Linked DNA regions of Homo sapiens: region 2 is linked to region 1. Evidence: promoter capture Hi-C in 16 types of primary human blood cells and fetal thymus (Javierre and others, 2016). All regions are on one chromosome and are shown on one strand. Each heading gives the region's core, a stretch centred on a gene start or on the middle of the fragment in contact. The rest is flanking DNA. Distances are from core to core; before and after follow the strand shown. Region 1 holds the start of HILPDA (hypoxia inducible lipid droplet associated). Region 2 holds the start of CCDC136 (coiled-coil domain containing 136).

Region 1 (7,001 bases), core at 3,179-5,678:
TGGGTTTTTTTGCTTGTTTGTGTTATAGCCATCCTAGTGAGTGTGAGGTGGTGTCTCATTGTATTCTATTTTTTATGTTCATTTTAACATAAATGTAGCATACTGCTCACATACTATAAACCCTTTTCATTTAACAATATATTGTGGAGATCTTGTCGATATATACAGAACTTACTCTCTTTTTTCTGGCTTTATGGTAATTCACTGTCTGAATGCACCATCTTTTATTTAACCAGTTCTCTACTGATGGGCTGTTTTTTCCAGTCTTTCATTATCACAAACAGTGCTGCAACAGTGCTACCTTTAAACACTCCATTCTCTACATGTGGAAGGATAAATCCTAAAAGTGGAATTCTGGGCTAAAGGGCATGTGTATGCTTTTATTTTTATAGACATTGCCAAATGGTAGTCAGTGGTCTTTTTTAACACCTCAATGGTCTTGAGGTGTTTAAAAAACAAGTGGGGGTCAGGGTAACAATTACTGACAAATTGATTTCCATACTGAATGTACCAGTTTATACTTACCAGAAATGTAAGTACATGTTATTTAAATGAACACTTGATGATAAGATCAAATTTGTGAAAATACTTGTGTTCTTAGTATGGTACTCTTGTGTGGGTTGACTTCAGAATCACTTCTTTTTAGGGGCTTTGGGGGAAGGGCAGCTTATAAAAAGCTTTCCTTGGTTGCAGCTCCAAGGAGGAGGTAGCACCTGAAAACGGCTTCTCTTGGCGCCCTTATCTACATTTCCTTGATGAAACAATGGGTACTCACTGAAGATGCTGGGTAAAATATTCATTCATTTATTCCTTCAGTCAACAAATATTTATCAAAAGCCTACTATTTGGTGCTAGCTGCTGGAGATGGAATGGAAACAAAATCAGACCAAACACTCCTTTCACTGACATTTTCAGGCTTTTGAAAGGACACAGACATTAATACAACTAAGGGTAAAGTAACACACTGGGAAAGAAATGCCTATCATGCCACTGGAGCCCGGAACAGGGTCCGAGGGTCAGCAAGGGTGACCAGAGGAAATATGTTTGAATTGAGATATGAAAGATGAGTAAAAGACTAGGTGAAGAAAGTCTCTTCTTCCTCTGGAAGAAAAAGCATAGTTAACAAATAAAGAAGGCTGGGTATGGTGGCTCACACCTGTAATCCCAGCACTTTGTGAGGCTGAGGCACGTGGATCACTTGAGGTCAGGAGTTTGAGACCAGTCAGGGCAGCATAGAGAGACCCCATCTCTACAAAAAAAAAAGAAAGAAAAGCAAGAAAAGAAAGGAAAGAAAGGGAAGAAAGGGAGAAAGAAAGAAAAAGAAAGAAAGAAAGAAAGAGAAAGAAAGAAAGAAAAAGAAAGAAAGAAAGAAAGGAAAGAAAAGGAAAAGAAAAGAAAAGAATTAGCTGGTGTGGTGGTGGCAAAGAAAGAAAAAAGAAAGAATTAGCTGGGTGTGGTGGTGTGTAACTGTAGTCCCAGCTACTTAGGAGGCTGAGGTGGTAGGATAGCTTGAGCCCAGAAAGTCAAGGCTGCAGTGAGCAGTGATCGTGCCACTGTACTCCAGCCTGGAAAACAAAGTGAGACCCTTTCTCAACAACAACAACAAATAAAGAAGAGAGGCAATAATACCTACCTCATAGCATCGTTAGAAAAATTAAATAATACATGTAATGCATTTAGCAAAATGTTCAGCACGTATCAGTTACTTGAAGAATGCTTATTTTGTTTCCACTCTTTCTTTCTTCTTTTTTTTTTTTTTGAGATGGAGTTTCCCTCTTGTTGCCCAGGCTGGAGTGCAATGGTCTGATCGCAGCTCAGTGCAACCTCTGCCTGCCAGGTTCAGGTGATTCTCCTGCCTCGGCCTCCCAAGTAGTTGGGATTAAAGGCATGCGCCACCATGCCTGGCTAATTTTGTATTTTTAGTAGAGAATGTTGGTCCATGTTGGTCAGGCTGGTCTCGAACTCCTGACCTCAGGTGATCTGCCCGCCTCAGCCTCTCAAAGTGCTGGGATTACAGGTGTGAGCCACCATGCCCAGCTCTTTTTTTTTTTTTTTTTTAAATAACCATAGTGAATGTTAAAATCCCAGTTCCCCAAGCAAAACATTACCACCCTACTTATGTACTTACTTCTAAACTCTACCCCACACTGCCTTGGGTTGTTAGTTATCTTATCTTATTCAGGTCTTGTTTACTCAACCAGGTGACAAGCTTATTTAGAACAAGAATCTGGCTTTATACTTTTTAGCAAAATAATAGCTACTATTTGTTGAGCATATATGACATACTCTTTATGGGCATTATTTCCAACCCTCACAACAACCCTGTTTTACAGATTATTTTCCTCATTTTACAGATAAGGAAACTAAAGTTCAAAGGGGTCAGTTAGCCTGGCCAAGGTGTTGAAGGCAGGACTAAATCCTGATGCAGGTAGCTACATTTGTAGCTGACAGAATGGTAAAGCATAGAGCTGCCCTCACCCAAACCCTTCTTATTTCCAACTGGCATGACCTTTAGACAATGGCAGGGAATATGGGGAGAAAGAATTGTTGGAGAGGTGCCCATCCCTTCTTCCAGCTGTGTGAAGTATAAATTTAGAACTCAAACTAAGTAGAACTCAAATGGTCATTGTAGAATTCCTGCATTCATTCAGCAAGCCTAGGCTGCTAATGAGCAAAACCCCTCACTGGGAGTTTTGTAGTTGATGATACAGATAATGTTAAGATTCATAGAATGTTTTTTATGTGCCAGGCATTGTTCTAAGCGCTTTATATGGATTAATTCATTTAATATCAGGTTAAGACTGTTATGATCTCACAGAACAGCTGAGGAAACAGAACTACAAGAAGGTTAAAGGGTTCGCCCAAGGCCTTCACCTGGCAAAGTAGTGGCGTTTGGATCTGGCAGTGATTTCGCAGCTTGAGACCTATTTAATAACAGTGTGAGAGAAGGGTCACACAGTCAAGCAAAAAAACAGACGAAACTCTGGTATAGCGAAGGACCAAAAGTTCTGCGGGCTGAGCAGGAAAGTTGGCTCCAAATGTCTGCCTGCCTGCCAGCAGACCTCCAGCCCCAACCTTCTGCTTTCCCGGCTTCCCCACCCCCTCATTCCCGACAGACCACAGCCAGCCAGCCAGGAAAGGAGGGGAAAGGTCGCAGTGGGGATGGCTCCTCCCTTCCCGTCTTAGAGCCCTTCTTAAGCAGAGCCCGCCGAGCTCGCTGAGATGTGGAAAGTCACAGGGTTCTTTCCCATCCGGCACGGGCACTTGACCCGGGTACACGGAACCGCCAGTTCTAAAGCCACCAGCGGCCTTCCCTTCCACGGCGTGTACACCCCTTCCCGGGGGTCCTCCCCATTCCCAGTGTCTCTCCGGGACTCTACTTTCTGAGATCCCCCGTTGCGTGCTCTCAAGACAGACCGCACAGTCTTGGCTGGGTGGGTTCGGGGGTGATTAGTAAGGCAGCCTAGCCCCCCAAATCTGGACATAAGGCTGGTCTGTGACCTCCTGGCTCTTTAGTTCAAGCCGAAAGCACCCTTAAAAATCATCTAGCGGCCGGGCGCGGTGGCTCACGCCTGTAGCCCCAGCACTTTGGGAGGCAGAGGTGGGAGGATGGCTTGAGATCAGGAGTTCGAGACCAGCCTGGGCAACATAGCGAGACTGTCTCTATTTAAAAAAAAAAAAGAAGAAGAAGAAGAAAAATCATCTAGTGGCCAATGTCTTCATTACAGATGAGAAAACCGAGGCCCATTTAAATACCAAGTGACTTGCCCATATGCAGTTAGGATCCCACACCAGGGCCAGGAGTATTTCACGTTTTCTGAAGCGACACGACAAACTCTCATAGAAAGCAGAGCTTGCAGAGCTTAATATGTTGCACAAGGGCCTCACCATTCCAGAGATACCGATGGCAACTGAAACTCGGGATTTGGAATCTTGGTACAGCTATGAAGTGAAACAAAACCAGCTCTTCAGTCCTTGAAATGAAGAAAATAACGAGTGGGGTAGGGGTCTGGTGCCCTCTGACAATTTAGTGCACCCGAAATCTCTGGGGAAGAACCCACCCTTCACGGCGGGGCTTCACGGACACGAAGGCCATCGGTGTTTTTCACCTACTGGGGAGAAGGGATATGTGCTCTCTGACTCCTTCAAATGTTTTCTACAGCAGAGATGGCAGTCGAGATTAATACACACGCCTCGTCTCACTCCAGAACACAATGACTCAAAACCGCACGACGTGTACTTTTGGAAACAGCTCCGCGGGAGAGCACCCGGGACAATCCCCAAACCCCGTTGCCCGCGGGGTGGGGCCGCGGACGTGCGCCACGTCGTGTGCGTCCCGGGCGTGCGTGCGGCCTCCAGTGCGCGTGCGCGTACCCTCCTGGGGCGTGCTCGCGGCTATAAGGGGCGGAGGCTGGGCGGCGTTGCTCTGCGCTCTGCGGCTGACGGCGCTTTTGTCTCCGGTGAGTTTTGTGGCGGGAAGCTTCTGCGCTGGTGCTTAGTAACCGACTTTCCTCCGGACTCCTGCACGACCTGCTCCTACAGCCGGCGATCCACTCCCGGCTGTTCCCCCGGAGGTGAGCGGCCCTGTGGGCTTCCCCGGCTCCCCACCCCCATCGCTAGAGTGCTCGCCGCGCTAGCAGCCTCGCGTTCCAGGGCTGGGGGTGCGCCGCCGGGATCCTCTCTGATCGCCCACGCCCCATCTGGGGTCCCCATTCAGCCGTCAGCCCTGTTTTGTCCTAAGGTGGTCCTAACTAGGATCCACGTGGCCCATCCCACGCCCACAGGTGCTGAGTTAGGCATCCCTGCCATGCCCTCCCAGAGCACCTTCACGATCTCCTTGCTGTCCCAACACTTAGCGTGTTGCGTGTTAACTACCCTTTGTCTATAAGGTTTGCAATGTGGCCCTAGTATCTTCCAGGGTACCTAACACATTGCAGATATTCATGGTATGTTTGTTAAATAAATGAACTTGATAGATTTGACCCTCATAGAGTTATTTGGACTTGCAAAAAGTTTGTAGTTAACTCCAATCTGTGATGTGGGAGAGACTTCTAGGCAGGTTCCTTTCTCCAGGGCATGTTCTTATATTTCCCATTACCCACCACCCCCCTGCAAAAGGACTGGGCCTATTTCAGGAAGGTGACTGATGCCTGCACTGTAGCACAGGGGTTGTGTATTGTGCCTTGCAGGAACAAAATTTTCAATAAAGTAAATGTTTGTTTGTTTGTTTTTGAGACGGAGTTTTGCTTTTGTTGCCGAGGCTGGAGTGCAATGGCGCGATCTTGGCTCACTGCAACCTCTGCCTCCCGGGTTCAAGCAATTCTGCCTCAGCCTCCCGAGTAGCTGGGATTACAGGCATGTGCCACTATGCCCGGCTAATTTTTGTATTTGTAGTAGAGACAGGGTTTCACCATGTTGGTCAGGCTGGTCTCGAATTCCTGACCTCAGGTGATCCACCCGCCTCGGCCTCCCAGAGCGCTGGGATTACAGGTATGAGCCACCGCGCCTGGCCTAAGAAAGTAAAAGTTTTAAGAAGTGTTCTTGAATTAGTCCAAGAAGCAACACTGGCTCCGCAGCCATGAAGTTTGCAATGTAAAATATTCTTGGAGAGTTGCTGTGCAACTCCCTGGTCCCTGTGTCCCTCACTGGCTAAGCCTCTCCTTCAGCCCTGTGAGAGGACAGAAGAGTCAGGGCTGGATGCATGCATATCCCCAAAAGGCTATAGATTCATCCTTTCCTCTTTTTTCTCAGGGTCCAGAGGCCTTTCAGAAGGAGAAGGCAGCTCTGTTTCTCTGCAGAGGAGTAGGGTCCTTTCAGCCATGAAGCATGTGTTGAACCTCTACCTGTTAGGTGTGGTACTGACCCTACTCTCCATCTTCGTTAGAGTGATGGAGTCCCTAGAGGGCTTACTAGAGAGCCCATCGCCTGGGACCTCCTGGACCACCAGAAGCCAACTAGCCAACACAGAGCCCACCAAGGGCCTTCCAGACCATCCATCCAGAAGCATGTGATAAGACCTCCTTCCATACTGGCCATATTTTGGAACACTGACCTAGACATGTCCAGATGGGAGTCCCATTCCTAGCAGACAAGCTGAGCACCGTTGTAACCAGAGAACTATTACTAGGCCTTGAAGAACCTGTCTAACTGGATGCTCATTGCCTGGGCAAGGCCTGTTTAGGCCGGTTGCGGTGGCTCATGCCTGTAATCCTAGCACTTTGGGAGGCTGAGGTGGGTGGATCACCTGAGGTCAGGAGTTCGAGACCAGCCTCGCCAACATGGCGAAACCCCATCTCTACTAAAAATACAAAAGTTAGCTGGGTGTGGTGGCAGAGGCCTGTAATCCCAGCTCCTTGGGAGGCTGAGGCGGGAGAATTGCTTGAACCCGGGGACGGAGGTTGCAGTGAGCCGAGATCGCACTGCTGTACCCAGCCTGGGCCACAGTGCAAGACTCCATCTCAAAAAAAAAAGAAAAGAAAAAGCCTGTTTAATGCACAGGTGTGAGTGGATTGCTTATGGCTATGAGATAGGTTGATCTCGCCCTTACCCCGGGGTCTGGTGTATGCTGTGCTTTCCTCAGCAGTATGGCTCTGACATCTCTTAGATGTCCCAACTTCAGCTGTTGGGAGATGGTGATATTTTCAACCCTACTTCCTAAACATCTGTCTGGGGTTCCTTTAGTCTTGAATGTCTTATGCTCAATTATTTGGTGTTGAGCCTCTCTTCCACAAGAGCTCCTCCATGTTTGGATAGCAGTTGAAGAGGTTGTGTGGGTGGGCTGTTGGGAGTGAGGATGGAGTGTTCAGTGCCCATTTCTCATTTTACATTTTAAAGTCGTTCCTCCAACATAGTGTGTATTGGTCTGAAGGGGGTGGTGGGATGCCAAAGCCTGCTCAAGTTATGGACATTGTGGCCACCATGTGGCTTAAATGATTTTTTCTAACTAATAAAGTGGAATATATATTTCTACTGTGTGTCATGTTGACTTCTGCTCTTGAAAT
Region 2 (7,001 bases), core at 2,824-5,323, 340 kb after region 1:
CAGTGGGGGCCAGAGGATAAATTAAAGCCACTGTCAGTGGTGTTTAAATTGGTCTAACTACACAATAGAGCAATTTGGCAACGGCTAGTGAAGTTTAAGATGCACCTACTCTATGACCCAGAAATTCCACTTCTAGGTATCCATCCTAGGAGAATGCATGAAATTGTCAAGTGCAGCACTGTTTTTAATATGGAAAACTGGAAACAGTCAAAATGTCAATCAGCCGAAAAATGGATAAATTGCAGTGAATTCAAGCAATGAAAGAGTTTTCAGTAGTTAAAATTCATAAACTGGAGCTATATGAAACAACATGGATAAATGCAAAAAAAAAAAAAAACAAAAAAAGTTTGCAGAAAAATGTGTACAATATAACACTATTTACATAAATTTCTAAAACACACAAGTCGCAATTATGTATTGTTGGTAGACACATTCATAAAAGGTAAAACATACATACAGGTAAAACTGGAAAACCATAAATAGAGGGCTACCTTGAATCAAATGTGGCAAGATCTGACTGGTTGTAGGATTTCAGTTCTGTGTGCATGGTTATTTGTTACGTTATTCTCTGTACCATACTTTTCTGCATGTTTCAAATACTCATATTTTTTTTCTTTTTAATGAAAGGATCTAGGCATTTAGAAATAAGGGTAAAGGGGGATAAATGGCTACATCAGTCCTCAAAGAGGATGATCTCCTGGGATGGGATTAGGAGGGAGGCTGAGCCCTGAGTCCAGGGATTACAGGGATTAATTCAGATCATCCCCCTAGGTTGATCACCTGGCTGACATGCCCACCACTCCTGGCCCCTCAGAGATGCATTTCTGGACCACAGCCCACCTCCCTCATATCTCTTAAGCTCTTTTCTCCCGCCTTTTAACTGCCTCCCTCCGCCCTCAACCCAGTACTGGTCTGGCCAGGGTTTGACCAAGTTTGGCTCCTGAAAATAGACTGGTTCAGGTCTCTCTTAAATGTTCTCCCAAATCAAGGGTGAAAGGTGACCTGCATGCCAGGAGCCAGGGAGAGATTAGTCCTAATACTCAGGATCAGAGCTCCCTGAGGAGAGCTTGAACCCTGGATGTCACCATCGACAATTTCCCTGCTGTGCCTCCCTACATTCACCAAGAGGTCAGCAGTCAAGGCCAACCGCTAACGTGGCCCTGCTGGCGGAGGCAGAACCAGGAGGAGCTGCGCTGGGCAGAAAGAACAGCCAGTAAGCTTCCAGAACTAGTCTTTGCCAGTTCCCAGAGCACTGCATCCCTCAAGCCCCCAGTGCAGCCCCTTTCTACCACCCCTGACAAATGCTCTGCTCCCCAAATCTGGACAGGCTTGGCGTCTGCAGTAAACCCTCTGCAGAAGGGGTCTGGGTGGGCTTGTTCAACTTTCCCCACAACTGTGTCACCTTGGCCACAGGATCTGGAGTAGAATCTTGTCATCTGGGAGCAAAGAAAACATTCTTGATCTCTGCTCATCATCTCTCTGCTGAGATAATGAGAGAGGCAGAGGAAGAAAAAAGGAGCAAGGAGTTGGGGGAGGGAGAGAGACTTATGGGCAACATCATCATTAATAGGCAACATTTAACACCACAAATATGAAATCATGTTAAATGATAAGACAGGGCATTAACTGGGTAGCTGGGAGATTGACCTTTAACTCATTTATCCTGTGTCAGAAACTCTGTCAGATGCTGGAAATACAAAGATAACTAAGATCCCCCTAACCTTCAGGAAACTGGGCAGAGCCCGGACAACCCGGAGGGCCTGGTGCTGTTACAGACAAATAGGGGCGAGCACCACAAAAGCGCCTAGTGGGGCAGGGATGGGGTGCCAGTCAGAGAAGGCCACCTGGAGGTGACCCCCAGCTGAAAAGGAGGGGGAAGTCCAGGCAAAGAAGGGCTTCCTTCCCGTGGAACAGGGATGGCTTGTGGACGTGGGAGCCTGTGGGATGTCAGAGACATTTGAGCCAGAGCAACTCCATCTTGAATAGAAGCTGGGTAAAATGAGGCTGAGACCTACTGGGCTGCATTCCCAGACGTTTAAGGAATTCTAAGTCACAGGATGAGATAGGAGGTTGGCACAAGACACAGGTCATAAAGACCTTGCTGATAAAACACCTTGCAGTAAAGAAGCCGGCCAAAACCCACTAAAACCAAGATGGCAGTGAGAGTGACCTCTAGTAATCCTCACACTGTTACACTCCCACCAGTGCCATGACAGTTTACAAATGCCATGGCAACATCAGAAAGTTACCCTACATTGTCTGAAAGGGGGTGTCAGGAATAAACCACCCCTTGTTTAGCATATCATCAAGAAATAACCAAAAAAAGCAGCCCTTGGGGCTGCTCTGTCTATGGAGTAGCCATTCTTTATTCCTTTACTTTCCTAATAAACTTGCTTTTAGTTTATCCTATGGACCTCCCTGAATTCTTTCTTGCGTGAGATTCAAGAACCCTCTGTTGCGGTCTGGATCCGGATCCCTTTCCTGCAGCGGGGGGAACGCAGACAATACTAGCCCTCGACCTGTGAGTGGATGTGCCAGAGAGGGGATCCGCGTGTGTCCCTGGCTTAGGAATCTTCCAGCCATTTCCTGGATGTGCTGGGGAGCCCCTGTTCCCAACTGTGCCCACTTCTATCCTTGCCGAGACCTGCCGAGATGTGAGAACTGCCTCTTCAAGAGCCGGCACCCAGTAGTCATAGCCTGAATAAACGAATGGTTGAAGACGTGAAATAAGCCCCCTGGGCTTCCAAATCTCCCTTCCACGAGAGTGAACATCAGTCGTGCCCACTCTGAGCGGGCTACTGTGGGGGCGTGGCTCGCAGCCCACCGGGTGTGGGACCGGAAGGGAAGACAGGGCGGAGGAGAGGGGGTCTTCCGGCCCTGAGGCTTGATGGGGCCACCGGAGGGCTCCTCCTAAGAGGGTCCTTGGCCCTGGCTCGGTGGGGGGTCGCGGAAAGCGGAGAGGTCAGGGCCCTGCCGTTCGCCCATCCGGGCCTCGACTTCCCTCCTCCGGCCCCCAGGCTGCCGAGGGGCCACCGGGCAGGGGTGGGCAGGGCCTGGGGCCGGAGTCAGCGCGGACTGCTAGGTGGGGGCGCCGGCCGGGCGGGGGAGGGAGGGAAGGAGGGGCGCGCGTGTCTGCGCTTTTGGAGGAAACAGTCCCACCTCGTCCTTTGCCGTCCCCATTGCTGAGCATGACCGGGCCCTGACACCTGGTGCAGAAGGGTCCCTGGGCACAGCAGACCCCGGGGGGACCCGCCGCCAGAACCAGGGGATCTCGCTCCTCCCTCTTGGGGCAGCCATAAGCCTAGGAGCTCCTGACGCTGTCCGGGCCCCGCGGCTCCCCGCGCTCTCTAGGGGAGAGCCTTGGGGCGTATCCGGGGTCGCGCTCACCCTCCCGCGCCGCCCCCTGCACGGGCTCGGAGCTCCCGAGTGCTGGGAGGGCTTCCGGGCGGCGGCGAGCGGCGGGGGGCGGTGTCAGGAGGCCCGGCCAGGCCCCGCCCCCTCGTCCGCCCTCCCTCCCTCCCTGCGCACCCGGCTCGGGTCCCCGGGCTCGCGGCTGCGGCTTCTGCTCAGGGAGGCGGAAGGCGGCGGCGGGAGCGGTCATGGAGGCGGGCGCCGGAGCCGGCGCGGGAGCCGCGGGCTGGAGCTGCCCGGGCCCAGGTCAGAGCCGCCCCTCCGTCACCTGTCTACCGCCCCTCCTTTCTCTCCTCCATCCCTCCTCCTTCCAGACCCCCAGGTGCTCCCGGCCTCCGCGGCTCCCCTTTCTCCGCCCAAAGTCTTCCTCCCTCCATCCTGGCCTCCACCGGGGCCCGGTCTCCATCCTTCCGGCCTGGGACTGAGGCTTCCGCGCACCGGCCGCATCCTGCCTGGTGGTCCCTCCCCAGCGCGTCTCTCCACTTCAGTCCGACGGTGCTTCCAGCCTTCGGGACTGCAGACCCTACACCTCCTGCAGCCCCGGAGACTCCTGAGCGCGGGGCGAGGGTGGGGTGGGCAAGGTCCAGCGAGAGAATGGGAGGAGAGGGGAGGGGAGCGGTCGCAGCCCTACCCCTTCCCGCACGCCCCCCACTCCTCCCTCCCTCCATCTGTAGGCCACCTCAGCCTTTCAGCCTCTTCTTCACTGGCTCCCGCCCTCTTTCAGTCTTGGCCCTCTCCTCCCTGTCCCCCCGGACTAAATACGCACACCCCCTCTTTCTTTCTGTGCAAGCAAGAGGGTCCTGGAACAGCGGGTTCTGAGGAGGCTGGGAGGCAGGGCTGAGAGGTGGCCGAGAGAGAGGAGTCGCAGAGCCGCCAGAGTGAGTCAGGCACCTCCACTGGGATTACAGATCCCAGAGCCTCGAGGAGCTGGAAGACATGTCCCCTTCTTTCCTCTGCACCCCAGCCCGCAGCCAGCCCCCCACCCCCCAGCCCCTCCTTTCTCCCTGCTCTCAGGACCCACAGTGACCACTCTAGGCTCCTATGAGGCTTCCGAGGGCTGTGAGAGGAAGAAGGGCCAACGCTGGGGGTCCCTGGAACGACGGGGGATGCAAGCTATGGAGGGTGAGTTTTCCCAAAAGGCTTCTTTCTTTCCCCTCCCCTCCTCCCTTAATTCCCTTCTTTCCTCCCTCTGACCCCCAGGCCTCTGAGCCAGGACACAGCCCTTCCCTCAGTTCATCTTAGCCCCTCTTCCTGCAGCTCAGAGCTCCAGCCCTTCCCAGGGCTCAGGCTTTGACAGAAGTTCAGGATGCATCCCTTCGGGACCCCAATCACCCCCCAGCTAACCAGGTTATGTGTCCCGAGGGAGCTGCCAGACAGAGAAAGAGGCCTTGTTGGACAGAGCTTTGAAGCAGCCTTTCAGCAGGGGGTTTGTCCTCACTGCCTGCCGACCCAGATCCCAAGCTGTCTCTTATTTTAAAAAGCAAGGAACTGGGCATGTGAATTGTCTTTCTGGGGCCACCAACATTAACTTCGAATGGAAGCCTGTGGCTTTGGTTCTTTAGGATACCTTATTGCCTGAAAGAGAGAGCCTAGGAGGGGGCGCGTGAGGCCATCCTCCCAACACACGTGTATCCCCACCACACCCATGTGACTTGGCAGTTGCTGCCAACACCAGGCCCCTGGAAGGACGCTGGTCCATTTGCCAGTACTTCCTGTGAAGTGTTGCACGTTGCACATTCAGTATGGGCAAACCTGCTCCCCCTAAGGGGGACAGATGGCACGAAGGGTCCCAGTTGAACCTAAGGCTGCTGATATTAGATAAAGTAAGACCAGAGATTCAGAATTTTAAAACAAAGCAAACAATCACCATCCAGACAACATTTTGCTATTTATAGGGACTGCGTTGCAGTAAAGGAGCGGGTGCTCACAACCAGAGGCTGGGGGCCAGCACCAAACCCCAGTTTTTTTAATGCATTAAAATGGTAGGCTTTCTTTTACACACAAGTACAGCCTAAAACTTCCCCTGAAATCTACTTTGTGGTCAGCAGAGTAGGAGGGGCCTCATATGGCTCAGCTAGGGGAGAGGAGACCTTGTGACATGCAGCAGGGAAAAACAAGGTGGACCTTGTAGAAAATTTCAAACAGGTATTTAATAATATACATTTGAAAGGGCGCCCGAGTTTGTCCAATGAAACCTCTACAATCAGATATTTTCTTTCTCTACCTGCTGACGGGCAATGTTTTCTTATTATGGAAAGGCTGATTTTTCACAAGCCACCTGGATAGTTTTTGTTTGGTTGTTTTTGTTTGTTTGTTTGTTTGAGACGGAGACTCACTCTGTTGCCCAGGCTGGAGTGCCAGTGGCTCGATCTCGCCTCACTGCAACCTCCAGTTCCCAGGTTCAAGCGATTCTCCTGCCTTAGCCTCCCAAGTAGCTGGGATTACAGGCGTGTACTACCACGCCCAGCTAATTTTTTTGTATTTTTAGTAGAGAAGGGGTTTCACCATGTTGACCGGGCTGGTTTGGAACTCCTGGCCTCAAGTAATCCACCCACCTCAGCCTCCCAAAGTGCTAGGATTACAGGCATGAGCCAGCATGCCTGGTCAGTTTTGTTTTGTTTTTTAACTTTCAAGAAATCTCCAAACTGTAACTGTTACCCCATTTGACCGAAAGATCCGCTCACTGTCTCCTTTCTTGACTACTTGTCCTGCTACTCAGAGGCCAGCCTAGAAGAAGCAGGTAATCCTGTGCAAGTGTCTCATGGCTGAGCGGGCACCAGCCTGCCCACAGGCAGTGATAGGAGGCTACCAAGTGCAACATTGGTCCAGGAAGGGCCTGGGAGGTGGAGGGGCTGCTTCTCAACTTGACTCTCACACCTGAGGACTCATCTTGAGTACAGGTCTTGCCCCGGGGCTCCTTGGGGGACACCAGGTGGCACTAGTATGTCATCTCTGCCCTGGCATAGTGAGTTTGAGGGCCCTGGAAGGACGGCAGAAAGGAAGTTGATGCTGACTCCTTGGTGGGATGGCTGTGTCTCCTAGGGGAGGTGTTACTCCCAGCTCTCTATGAGGAGGAAGAGGAAGAGGAAGAGGAGGAAGAAGAGGTGGAAGAAGAAGAAGAACAAGTGCAGAAAGGTGGCAGTGTTGGCTCTCTGTCAGTCAACAAGCACCGGGGACTGAGCCTCACGGAGACAGAGCTGGAGGAGCTGCGGGCTCAGGTGCTGCAGCTGGTGGCAGAACTGGAGGAGACCCGGGAACTGGCAGGGCAGCATGAGGATGACTCCTTGGAGCTACAGGGTGAGTGCCTGGGCCAGGGCCCAGTGCCCGGGCCCAGAGGCTCTGCACTCCCCTGGATCCGAGCTTGACACTGGTGCCCCTCTCCCTGCAGGGCTCCTGGAGGATGAACGGCTAGCCAGCGCCCAGCAGGCAGAGGTGTTCACCAAGCAGATCCAGCAGCTCCAAGGTAATTCCCAGGACTTGGACTGGAGGGAGGTGGCCATCCAAGTGGTCACCTAAGTACTTTTTTCCTGAGGGTTTGACTGAAGCACAGCAGATAAAAATAACCAAATTCAGTAATTTCACCTCATTTT

What was found. Contacts are between HindIII fragments. The CHiCAGO score rates a contact against its expected background, and 5 or more counts as called.
Region 2: the fragment with the promoter of CCDC136 here is called in contact with the fragment with the promoter of HILPDA in region 1 in 1 of 17 cell types (fetal thymus); the score reaches 5.6 in fetal thymus.

The regions. Positions count from the first base shown.
Region 1 is chr7:128,451,450-128,458,450 of GRCh38, forward strand. HILPDA (hypoxia inducible lipid droplet associated) reads left to right here and starts at 4,429. Exons shown (of 2, transcript NM_013332.4): 1 at 4,429-4,574; 2 at 5,752-6,969. The coding sequence starts at 5,820. The coding sequence ends at 6,011. It also overlaps the pseudogene EFCAB3P1. RefSeq lists enhancers at 2,457-3,163, 4,072-4,241 and a silencer at 4,342-4,481. The HindIII fragment of the contact is 2,271 bases long and covers 2,208-4,478 here.
Region 2 is chr7:128,787,895-128,794,895 of GRCh38, forward strand. It overlaps CCDC136 (coiled-coil domain containing 136), which reads left to right and starts at 4,074. Exons shown (of 18, transcript NM_022742.5): 1 at 4,074-4,533; 2 at 6,454-6,708; 3 at 6,800-6,874. The coding sequence starts at 4,518. RefSeq lists silencers at 3,181-3,650, 3,189-3,457. The HindIII fragment of the contact is 10,437 bases long and covers 1,217-7,001 here.